Regions from separate parts of the Homo sapiens genome. Here all the other regions are linked to region 3. Evidence: promoter capture Hi-C in human tissues and cell types (Jung and others, 2019). All regions are on one chromosome and are shown on one strand. The core of a region is centred on a gene start or on the middle of the fragment in contact, and the rest is flanking DNA. Distances in the headings are between cores, read along the strand shown. Region 1 overlaps USP32 (ubiquitin specific peptidase 32). Region 2 overlaps USP32 (ubiquitin specific peptidase 32). Region 3 holds the start of APPBP2 (amyloid beta precursor protein binding protein 2).

What was found. The method cuts DNA at HindIII sites, captures the fragments that hold promoters and counts their contacts. A contact is called where the count stands out against the background at its distance.
Region 1: a contact is called between a fragment that was not itself captured here and the fragment with the promoter of APPBP2 in region 3, in 3 of the 25 tissues and cell types used here (IMR-90 fibroblasts, bladder and lymphoblastoid cells).
Region 2: a contact is called between a fragment that was not itself captured here and the fragment with the promoter of APPBP2 in region 3, in 1 of the 25 tissues and cell types used here (hippocampus).

Annotation. Positions count from the first base shown.
Region 1 is chr17:60,187,585-60,190,686 of GRCh38, forward strand. It overlaps USP32 (ubiquitin specific peptidase 32), which reads right to left. Exons shown (of 34, transcript NM_032582.4): 29 at 2,979-3,099. Among named protein-coding and RNA genes, the nearest start is that of CA4, 39 kb to the left of the region's middle. The HindIII fragment of the contact is 9,453 bases long and covers 1-3,102 here.
Region 2 is chr17:60,229,061-60,232,644 of GRCh38, forward strand. All of the region lies in intron 12 of USP32 (ubiquitin specific peptidase 32), which reads right to left. It also overlaps SCARNA20. Among named protein-coding and RNA genes, the nearest start is that of CA4, 81 kb to the left of the region's middle. The HindIII fragment of the contact is 6,309 bases long and covers 1-3,584 here.
Region 3 is chr17:60,524,725-60,527,827 of GRCh38, forward strand. APPBP2 (amyloid beta precursor protein binding protein 2) reads right to left here and starts at 1,518. Exons shown (of 13, transcript NM_006380.5): 1 at 1,070-1,518. The coding sequence starts at 1,207. RefSeq lists enhancers at 429-1,137, 858-1,127 and a silencer at 1,208-1,347. The HindIII fragment of the contact is 9,879 bases long and covers 696-3,103 here.

The DNA.
Region 1 (3,102 bases), core at 333-2,832, 340 kb before region 3:
CTTTATGGCCAACCACAAATTAGAGTAAGCTAGTAAAGAATGTTGATTTTTATTGACTATATTTTCTGTGGAACACAGGCTACAGTGCTAGATGAAGACAGGAAAGAAGGCTGATAAAAAACATATTTGTGGACTGTACTGACAATAATTTCTATTTATCAGTAAATTTCCCAAAGTGATAAAGATTCCCTTTACCTCTTGGGATCTACGCTTAGATCCTCTACTATTGTTTAAATAATCTATAAATTACTTATAGGCACCCTCTTCTTTTTCAAAGTTACTTTAAAGCTCATCTTTAACACAAAACACAGGAAATGAAGTAATAGTTTTCATAGAAGACTATTGAAAAAAAGAGAGTGGCCTAAGAATTTGTCTAGCTTAATTTTCTTTTTTTCTTTCTTTTTTTGTTTTTTTGAGACAGGTTCTTGCTCTGTTACCCAGGCTGGAGTGCACTGGCGAGATCACAGCTCACTGCAGCCTTGATCTCTTGGGTTCAAGCAGCCCTCCAACCTCAGCCTCCCAAGTAGCTGGGACTACAGGTGCACACCACCACACCTGGCTAATCTGTGCATTTTTTGTAAAGACAGGGTGACATCATATTGCCCAGGCTGGCATCCAGTTTAATTTTCTACTGAGGAATCTGAGGTCCCAACAGGAGAGAAATGTAAAGGATAAGAGTGATTGCCTCTGTTTTTTTTCTGATTACTAGGTATAATATTCATGTTGGAAAGCAGAGAAAAATGTTAAAAGGCAGGGAATCCTTTTATATTCTTAATTATATTCTTAATACAAAGGCAACCACTGTCAAAATATTGGCAGATTTTCTTCTGTCCTCTTTCCTAAATAGTATTTTTTTCAATATTGAAGGTATTATTTCCAGTATATGCAACTTTATGTCTTGTTTTTTAAAAAATGTTCACATATCATAAGCTTGTTCCCATAAATGTTAGCAAAAACTCCTGGTAATCATTTTCAACAACCGCATTATATTTTATCCAATGAATACACCATGCTTTATTTAACCATTCCTCTAATGTGAGACAAATATAAGTTGTTAATAACTTTTTGCTATTCTAAAAAATGCTATGATGATATTTGCCTGCAAATTATGGAGTAATTACAGAGTATTCTCCCCTCAGATAAATTCCTAAAAGGGAAATCACTGGAATAAAAAATATAAAGTATATGGGCAATAATCCCAATTTAAACCACGGTATCTCTTTTGTCTACATGACTTTCTAAGCACATTCAGAAACCCTACATGTAGGGGAGCCCAGATTAGTCATATGGGCCCACTCCCTAGCAAGGCATCAATAGCCCTTCACTTCCATGGTATCCTAAGTGCATCACTGAAAGTGGAAGTAGGGTGAGATTTAACAGGTCACGTAGGCCGTTTCCTATAAGCAGGATGTCCTAAAGAGCTTTTCCGATTGCACACTGGATTTGTTAAAAAGGGGAAGAGATTTATAGAGCCAAATAATTTGTCATCATTGACAGTAATGTCTTGTCAGATTTTGTGCTGACAAAGATTTATGAATCTATCAACTAGTAAAATTTTCCCTCCTTGCTAGTGAGCATGATCTAGAACATTAGTTTCTCTTCAGCTTTCTTTAGCTTTAGCCTAGTGATCTTTCATTTGACAAGTATCCACAAATTATACTTATTTCTGGCTAGAAAGGGCTCCCAGGAGCCTTGGTGTGTGCGGCATATTTTGGGATCTAAATAAGAAACTAGGTCTAGAATTGGTAGTTTCCCCAGTCCTCCATAGCACAACAAGACAGAAAAGTCAGTTACCGTTACTAACTTATCCAAAGGGAATGCTTTAAAAAATAGTAAAGGAAATTTCCAACTATCAAGAGCCATAAAAATGCAAAAACCACTACAATTCCTCATGTGACTTAAGGAACTCCTTTGACTCTGTTGTTTTTACCTCTCTATCAGATTCTTAATGTCTTTACCATTCAAATAATATTTGGTTGATTAAAAACTGCCTGAGGCAAACATTTTTAGGTATGGAGTTAAAATTATTTCTGAAGCAACATTTTCAAAATTTAAAAATTGCTCTGGCCAGACAGTGACAATAGAAGAATGTGAAGTGCAAAGAGTGGCCACTGAGATGTGCTCTTAGGTACCCAAAATGGAAACATTTCAATCCTTTCTGTAACTTTTCTGATCACTCTGCCTATTAAAGGCAGCAGCTATAGCCCTGGGACACATTTGAACTAAGTAACTGTGGTTACCAAATGCTGCAACTTCAATAATATTTAACAGAGAGATGCTTATTGATATGTCATGGCCAGACACAGTTTTGTTTCAAGGTTCACTTATTAATATTTTTGAAATTTAATGCCTGCTATAGTTTGGACATGGTTTATTTGTCTCCATCAAAATGCATGTTGAAATCTGATTCCCAATGTGGCGTTGTTAGGAGGTGGGGCCTAGCAGGAGGTGTTTGGGTCATAGGGGTGAAACTCTTGTAAATGGTTGGTGCCATTCTTGCAGTAGTTGAGTTCTCCTTCTGAGAACTTAGTTTCCAAGAGAGCGGGCTGTTAGAAAGCGAGGATCTTCCTCCTGTTTGGTCCTCCCTCTTGCCTGTGTCTGTTCTCCTTTGATCTTCTCTGCCATGTTATGATGCAGCACAGAAGCCTTTGCCAGAAGCCAGGACCATGTCCTTGAACTTCCCAGGCTGCCGAACAGTAAGCTAAATAAACCTCTTTTCTTTACAAGTTACCAGCCTCACGTACTCTGTTATAGCAACACAAAATGGACAAAGACAATGCCCCAATACAATGAACTCCAGAAGTTGGAAAATGAAAAAGCTCAAGCAAACATGTCAATATATTAGGTGCCATAGAGGATGCCAATGAAGGTTTTTCTGGTTGTTTTTAAATTGTCTAAAACAGAAATGGCATAATAGTTACACTGGTGGAAATTTCTCATATAAAAACCACCATTTTATGGTGGCCCTAAATACTTACCCTTTCCTGGGATGTTTGATAGCGAAGGTGAAGGGCTGTGGGATCCCAATCCACAGCGATATAGGCATTTCCAATGAAAGCTCTGTCTTCCCCACAATCAATTTTACAGCCTCTGCAAAATCTA
Region 2 (3,584 bases), core at 318-2,817, 300 kb before region 3:
TTTAGTCTGGAGTATAGCAAAGGCTCTTTTTTTAATACAGGGTCTTGCTCAGTCGCCTATAGCTCACTATACCCTTGAACTCCTGAGCTCAAGTGATCCTTCCACCTCAGCTAGGACCACAGGCATGCATCACCATGCCCAACTAATTTTTAAAGTTTTCATAGAGATGGGGTCTCAATATGTTACCCAGACTGGTCTCAAACTCCTGGAGGATCCAAACAATCCTCCTGCCTTGGCCTCCCAAAGTACTAGGATTACAGGCATGAGTCACCCGGCCAAAGGCATTTTTTCATTTTTAAAGTTCTCTATGTGATCTCACTACATATGCAGCCAGAATTAATAACTATTGCCCTAGTGAGGATTATAGTCTCATGCATTTGTTTTTATAATGTGCTCCAGATGTTAAGAGCTTAGAAATTGACTTGTTATTAAATCTGCTACCTGCTCTGGAACTTGTGTTTTAGAAGAAGATTTAGATTTATTTAGTTTTCAGGTCATTTGCTTCCTGCCCATAAAGATGGAGCAAGACAGACAGCAAAACCATTTTGAAAGAGTAACAGCGCCACCTTTGAGAAAAATTAAAGTCTTCCAAGTCACTTTGTTTTCCTCCAGAAAAATCACTTTAGTTTTGCTATAAGTGATCTTAAATGATGTTTCAATAACCATCACATTTTTGGCAAGGTAATCCGTTTATAAATTTATACTCACTTCTATATTCCATTTATATAAAGTTGATGCATTACAAATTACTTTTTTTTTCCTTCTTTTTTTGAGACAGAGTCTCGCTTTGTTGCCCAGGCTGGAGTGCAGTGGTGCAATGTTGGGTCACTGCAACCTCTGCCTCCTGGGTTCAAGCAATTCTCCTGCCTCAGCCTCCGGAGTAGCTGGGATTACAGGCACGCACCACTGCGCCTGGCTAATTTTTGTATTTCTGGTGGAGACAGGGTTTCGCCACGTTGGCCAGGCTGGTCTTGAACCCCTGACCTCAGGTGATCCACCTGCCTTGGCCTCCCAAAGTGCTGGGGTTACAGGCGTGAGTCACTGCGCCCGACCACAAATTACTTTCTAAAAAATTTGTAGTAATATATTTTGAGGAAGATTGGGTCTATTTGAGCAAACAATTTTCTTCAAGTTTTCCTCTAAGATGGGCATGTAAGAGAATTTCAAGGAGTAATATTTGGAATTGTATCTTAAATGTTTTAACATGTTTGAAAGTCTTACATGGTGCCTATGTTTCTAAAGAAAATGTAAATGAAACCATTCCTGTAATAATGCTTCTCATTCTGAAGAGCTCAGTCCATAGGTTAAATCTATATATATCACTGGCAAGAAAACAGGATAATAAAAATATTACCAGGCATTAAATTTGCTAGGCTAAATTTTATAATAATTTGTGAACAGGATGATTCTAATAACTTCTCAGAGATTGCAACATTTGCCTCTAGCAACTGCGGTTCTACCACATGCTTTTAACATGGTACAGTGAGTAATAACCTTTAGACTTGGAGAATATGGGCTTTTCTTTGCTTCTCTTCCAATGCTCCAAACAAACTAGACTGGTCTGTCTTCTCATTGTCTTCGGCTTTCTTTTCTATTACAGGAACCTGATGCTCTCACTGTTCTCCACTGCCTGAAACTGTCAGCACAACTCAGGTTCCTTCTTCCCCTTCCTACACGCTTATTTTTCTTGTTCCTTCTACCCTTCTTGGCTTTCAGTGAAATAGCTACCTTTTCATCCGATTAATCTTATTACCACTTTCCTTCTATAAGATGAACAAACCAATCACAGTTATATATTGCAGAATCTTAGAGTCACTAGCTTTTTTTGACTGTTCATTTCTGGCTGCTTGCGGAAATTTTTGTTTTTCTAAAACATCAAAGGATCATGTTTTGTTTTTATTGACTTCAGGGGTCTGGAACTATTCAAAATTATCCTAGAACCCTGGTTTTCAGAAGATAGATTTCTAAATAGGTAAAGTTTCACCTGTAGAGAGAAATGTCCTCATTTTCTGAGTCAACAATTCACAAAAGGACTAGGTACTTATTTTAATATAAGAGAATTTTATTTTGAGATTTTAGGATTCCCTGTGAGTTGTATAAATAGTTTATGTGTTCTAAAATATGGGTCAAGATTCACCTTTTTCTCTATTGATGATACTACTACTTTTTATGCCCTGTACATAGGTATGTTACAAGAATCAATTAACAGTTATGTCAATTTCATATTTCACTAGTGACTGAAATGCTAGCTTTGGAAAAATAGAGGGCAGCATGGAGCAACAGATTAGGTACTAAGGCAGGACTCAGGACACTGAGCTCTAGAGTGCTAGATAAAGTAATAAAATAATTGTCTGATACAGCTTTGGGCAATTATAAAACCTAAGGACCTCAGAGGCTTCATTTGTAAATTCAGAGAAGAGAGGTGTTTCATTCCTTTTATTTCCCACTCAACTACACATGTCTGAGGCAGGAAAACAAGGCTGCCCCACTCGTGGCAGTCCTGACGACGATCCTCGAGGGCTGCTCTTGGCCTCCAGCCTTGGCTAAGGAGAACAGGGACCCCCCAAAGCCCATGGGAGAGAGGCACGAAAGGTGATTTAAAGTATCTTCTAGCTCTAAAGTTACGTGATAACTAAATAGGAAAATCTGCATGTGAATAGTAATAGCTGCTCCTTCATAGTTCTCAAAAAGGAAGATACACATTATGTAATGTAATAATGATAGAAAAGATTTCACCATTCTTCCCCATTTACATTTTTTTAGGAGATTACACATAGAAGAATAAAGCTTGACACATTAAAGCGGGGAAAGACTGGTAAGATTCCATGAGCAGAGACACAATCAAATTATTCATGCTCCAGTGAATCAGCAAATCTGGGGTTAGCCACTTCTAAGAAAGGATGGCTCATTTTTCCTGATCCCTTGGTCTCTGATCTTTCCATTTAGTCTTGCCAGTATTTGAAACATACTACCCTCACAATTAGTAATATTCGTAAGTAAATATGTCATTTTATGAAGAGAAAAAATTAAAGCTAAGTACTCTCTTAGGTAGGCAGATGAAGCTCTAAGATCAAATTATCTGACATGTCAACACTAATTTTCTTTTTCTTTTTTTTTTTTTTTTTTTTTTGAGATGGAGTCTCACTCTGTCATCCAGGATGGTGTGCAGTGGCATGATCTCGGCTCACTGCAACCTCTGCTTCTTGGGTTTAAGCGATTCTCCTGCCTCAGCCTCCCAAGTAGCTGGAACTGCAGGCACACGCCACCACGCCAGGCTAATTTTTATATTTTTAGTAGAGTCGGGGTTTCACCATGTTGGCCAGGCTGGTCTGGAACTCCTGGTCTCAAGTGATCTGCCTGCCTCAGCCTCCCAAAGAGCTGGGATTGCAGGTGTGAGCCATTGCACCTGGCCCAAATTTTTTTTTTTTTTTTTTTTAAACAAGGCGTTTGTCAAAGTGGCCACATGGACTGGAAAGAGAAATTTGATTTTTTTTTTTTTTTTTTTAAATACAGTCTCATTCTGTTGCCCAGGCTGGAGTGCAGTGGCATCATCTTGGCTCTCTACAACCTCTGCCTCCTAGGTT
Region 3 (3,103 bases), core at 268-2,767:
AATATCAGTTTACACTGTTCCAGCCAACTTACAGATCAAGAGGAAGTATTTAAGGTCTAAAAAATAAATTACATTCTACTTTTAGTCACATTTTGCATGGGTGGCTACTGGACACTAGGAGTTATCGACGCGGATTCAAGACAAGGAAGACTGAATAATAAATCCAGTGTTCACATTCAAATGTGGGGGAGAGAAAAGGGCAGGCTCTGAGTCCATAAAGTTCTCCACACTCTGAAAACACTGCAAAAATAGTCCACATCTAAGGACACTTACCCTTGAAACTCCTTGGAGAGTGGCTTGGGAGACTTGCTGTTCAGATTTTTGAGGGGGAGTGATTTAAGAATGCTGCAAGATTGCAACTTTCAAACACAGGAACATAATCTAAAGTGTTTTTTTCTTTCAGTAAAGATCTCTCCCTGTCCTCTTCAAACAGTTGATCAGCACTCCCATTTTCACAAAATCCCTAATTCAAGTATAGAGCCCCTCCTCTCCCACAAAAAAATCAAAGCTTTAAAGAATATGCAAATAAAACACACAGATTATTTCCAATAATCCCTAACTCCTTCCCAATTGGGAAAAGAAAGGAGAAACGAAGGAACACGAAGCAAAAACACCAAAACACTCGGGGAAGGAAGGCGGCGAGATGAGAAAGTAGGAATGGGTGGGGGGAGGAGCACGGAAAAAAGTCCAGCTGATGCTGACACTTAATTGGAAGGAGAGGATGGAAAATATCCTGAAGATACGGGCTAGAAGGAAAGGACTAGGTGGGACAGGGGCGCGATAGAGTAAGTCCACGCAAAAGGCCTACCCAAGAGGGCCACTGTGTAGAAGGGAACACCAACAGGGAGCAAGACTCCCCAAGATTACTTCAAGGCCCCAAAGCTTAAGAGACAGGGCATAGGGAGATGGGGTGCTTCTCCACTGGCAATGCAGACACCGCACCAGACGTTTCGGGAGGCAAGTCTGCCGGAAGGGGTGAGGGGTTAACTGCGGGGGTTCGCAGACGTGGAAGGGGGTGCGGCCCCCGGGGTTGCTGGAGGAGAGCAGAGAGGAGGCCCACGGCGCATACCTTGTAGTAAACATCAAACTGGATGTTCTCGGGCAAGGAGCGGATGTCTCGGCGGGAGCGGATGTAGTTGTCCACGACAGCGGAGATGGCGGTGTTATAGAGAGTCTCTGGGATCCACTCTAGTTCCACGGCCGCCATCTTCCTTCCCTCCTCCTCCGCCTCCTCCGCCTCCTCCTCCCGAAGGCCCCCACCTCCCTCCGTAGCGAACCCCTCTGCGGCCCCGGAGGATTCGGAGGGGCGGTGGCAGCCACGCGGGCGCACGGCAGAAGGCACGGCCGCCCTGCCTCCTCCGGGGGCAAACTGAGGGACGGCGGCAGCGGACGCAGGCCCGAGTAAAAAGTGGGACAGAAAACAGCGGCCAGCCAGGCCAAAAGCGTCACAATCCCGGTTCGAGAGGAACCCGGGTTCCGTCCCAGCGCTGATCTCTGCAGGGGCGGGGCTGCGTGTGCGGCGTCATGACGTAAGCGCACGCCGGCGCGCCGGAGGGGAGGAATGCGGCAGGCGGAAAACTTAGGAAGAGCTGGATGCCTCCCACGGAGAGCGTCCCTTCCAAGCGGCCCCGGAGTGGAGTGGAGTGGAGTGGATAGGGGTAGACTTTTCACACGGGGACAAATTATTACAGGATATCTGCGCCCCCTGTTCCGAGTCACTCGGGGCCATCGGTTACTTCAGCAGGTTCTCTGCATCACGGACCCTTTTGAGGCTCAGGTAAAAGTTTGGATCCTCTCCCCACAAACGAGCAAAATTATCTGTACATTGAAAATTATGCATTGAGAAAATTCACATTACTCTAGAAACCCTTAGACTGCAGTTCCTAACCCAAGTTAAGAACCCGCGGTCCAGGAACTAGGGGTAACGATAGAAGAGAGACTTGTTTTTCTTTGTATAACCATTTGCACCGTTGTAACTTTTTGACCATGTTTCTTTATCCAAATGAAATTTCCGAAAAAAGAAAACTCCTGCCCCAGAACTTCGTAGGAAAACTAGCTTGATTATGGAATTACAAATAATAGTAAGAGAAAAAAGGCTAAGTGGTGGCCGTGATAGGACTTAATGGTATTTCAATTCCCAGAGTTACAGTGGCGGCTTCAAGGGATTGTTGAATAATTGGGAGTACTTGTTTCAGCTTCTTTCCTTCCTCAGCCTGAACATCTGCTGTTTATGTAACTTAATTTCCTAAGTCTGCGATTTCAAGAATTTGATGCAACATCTTTCTGTTCTAGGAATTTACCATGGAAATTATTGGCCATAATTGTTGGTGACACTATCAAACTCATAGTCACTCTATAACGATGTAAGTCCAGAAAACAGCCATAATAATAATGTCCTGATTGATATTTAGAGCTAAAAGAAGTGGAAAGAGTTATTTCAATTTACCCTTCACCTGGTACTTCAGTGTTAAGTGGTTAAATAATTCCACAAAAAATAAACACTCTTAATCTTCTTCAGTCTATATAAATTCTTACTCTATACTGTGAACCTAGGAAAGCTGTGGATGGCCTCAAGATCAGATTGCCAGTTTAGCAAGTAAAAAACTACAAGGCTGGGCGCGGTGGCTCACACCTGTAATCTCAGCACTTGGGAGGCCGAGGCGGGTGGATCACGAGGTCAGGAGATCGAGACCATCCTGGCTAACACGGTGAAACCCCGTCTTTACTAAAAATACAAAAAATTAGCCCGTGGTGGCGGGCGCCTGTAGTCCCAGCTACTCGGGAGGCTGAGGCAGGAGAATGGCGTGAACCCGGGAGGCGGAGCTTGCAGTGAGCCAGGATCGCGCCACTGCACTCCAGCCTGGGCAACAGAGCGAGACTCCGTCTCAAAAAAAAGAAAAAAAAAATTACAAGTGCCCAGTCACATCTTAATGTCAGATAAACAACAAATGGTTTTGAAATGTAAGTATGTTCTGTGCAATAGTTTTGCTCATGCCTTCGGAGCCACTCAAGTGTATCAGTTCATTCAGCAAATCCTTCATCACTTCTTAGACACTGGCGCTTTTGAAGATCAGGATCCCTGCCCCACATAAAAGAATAATTA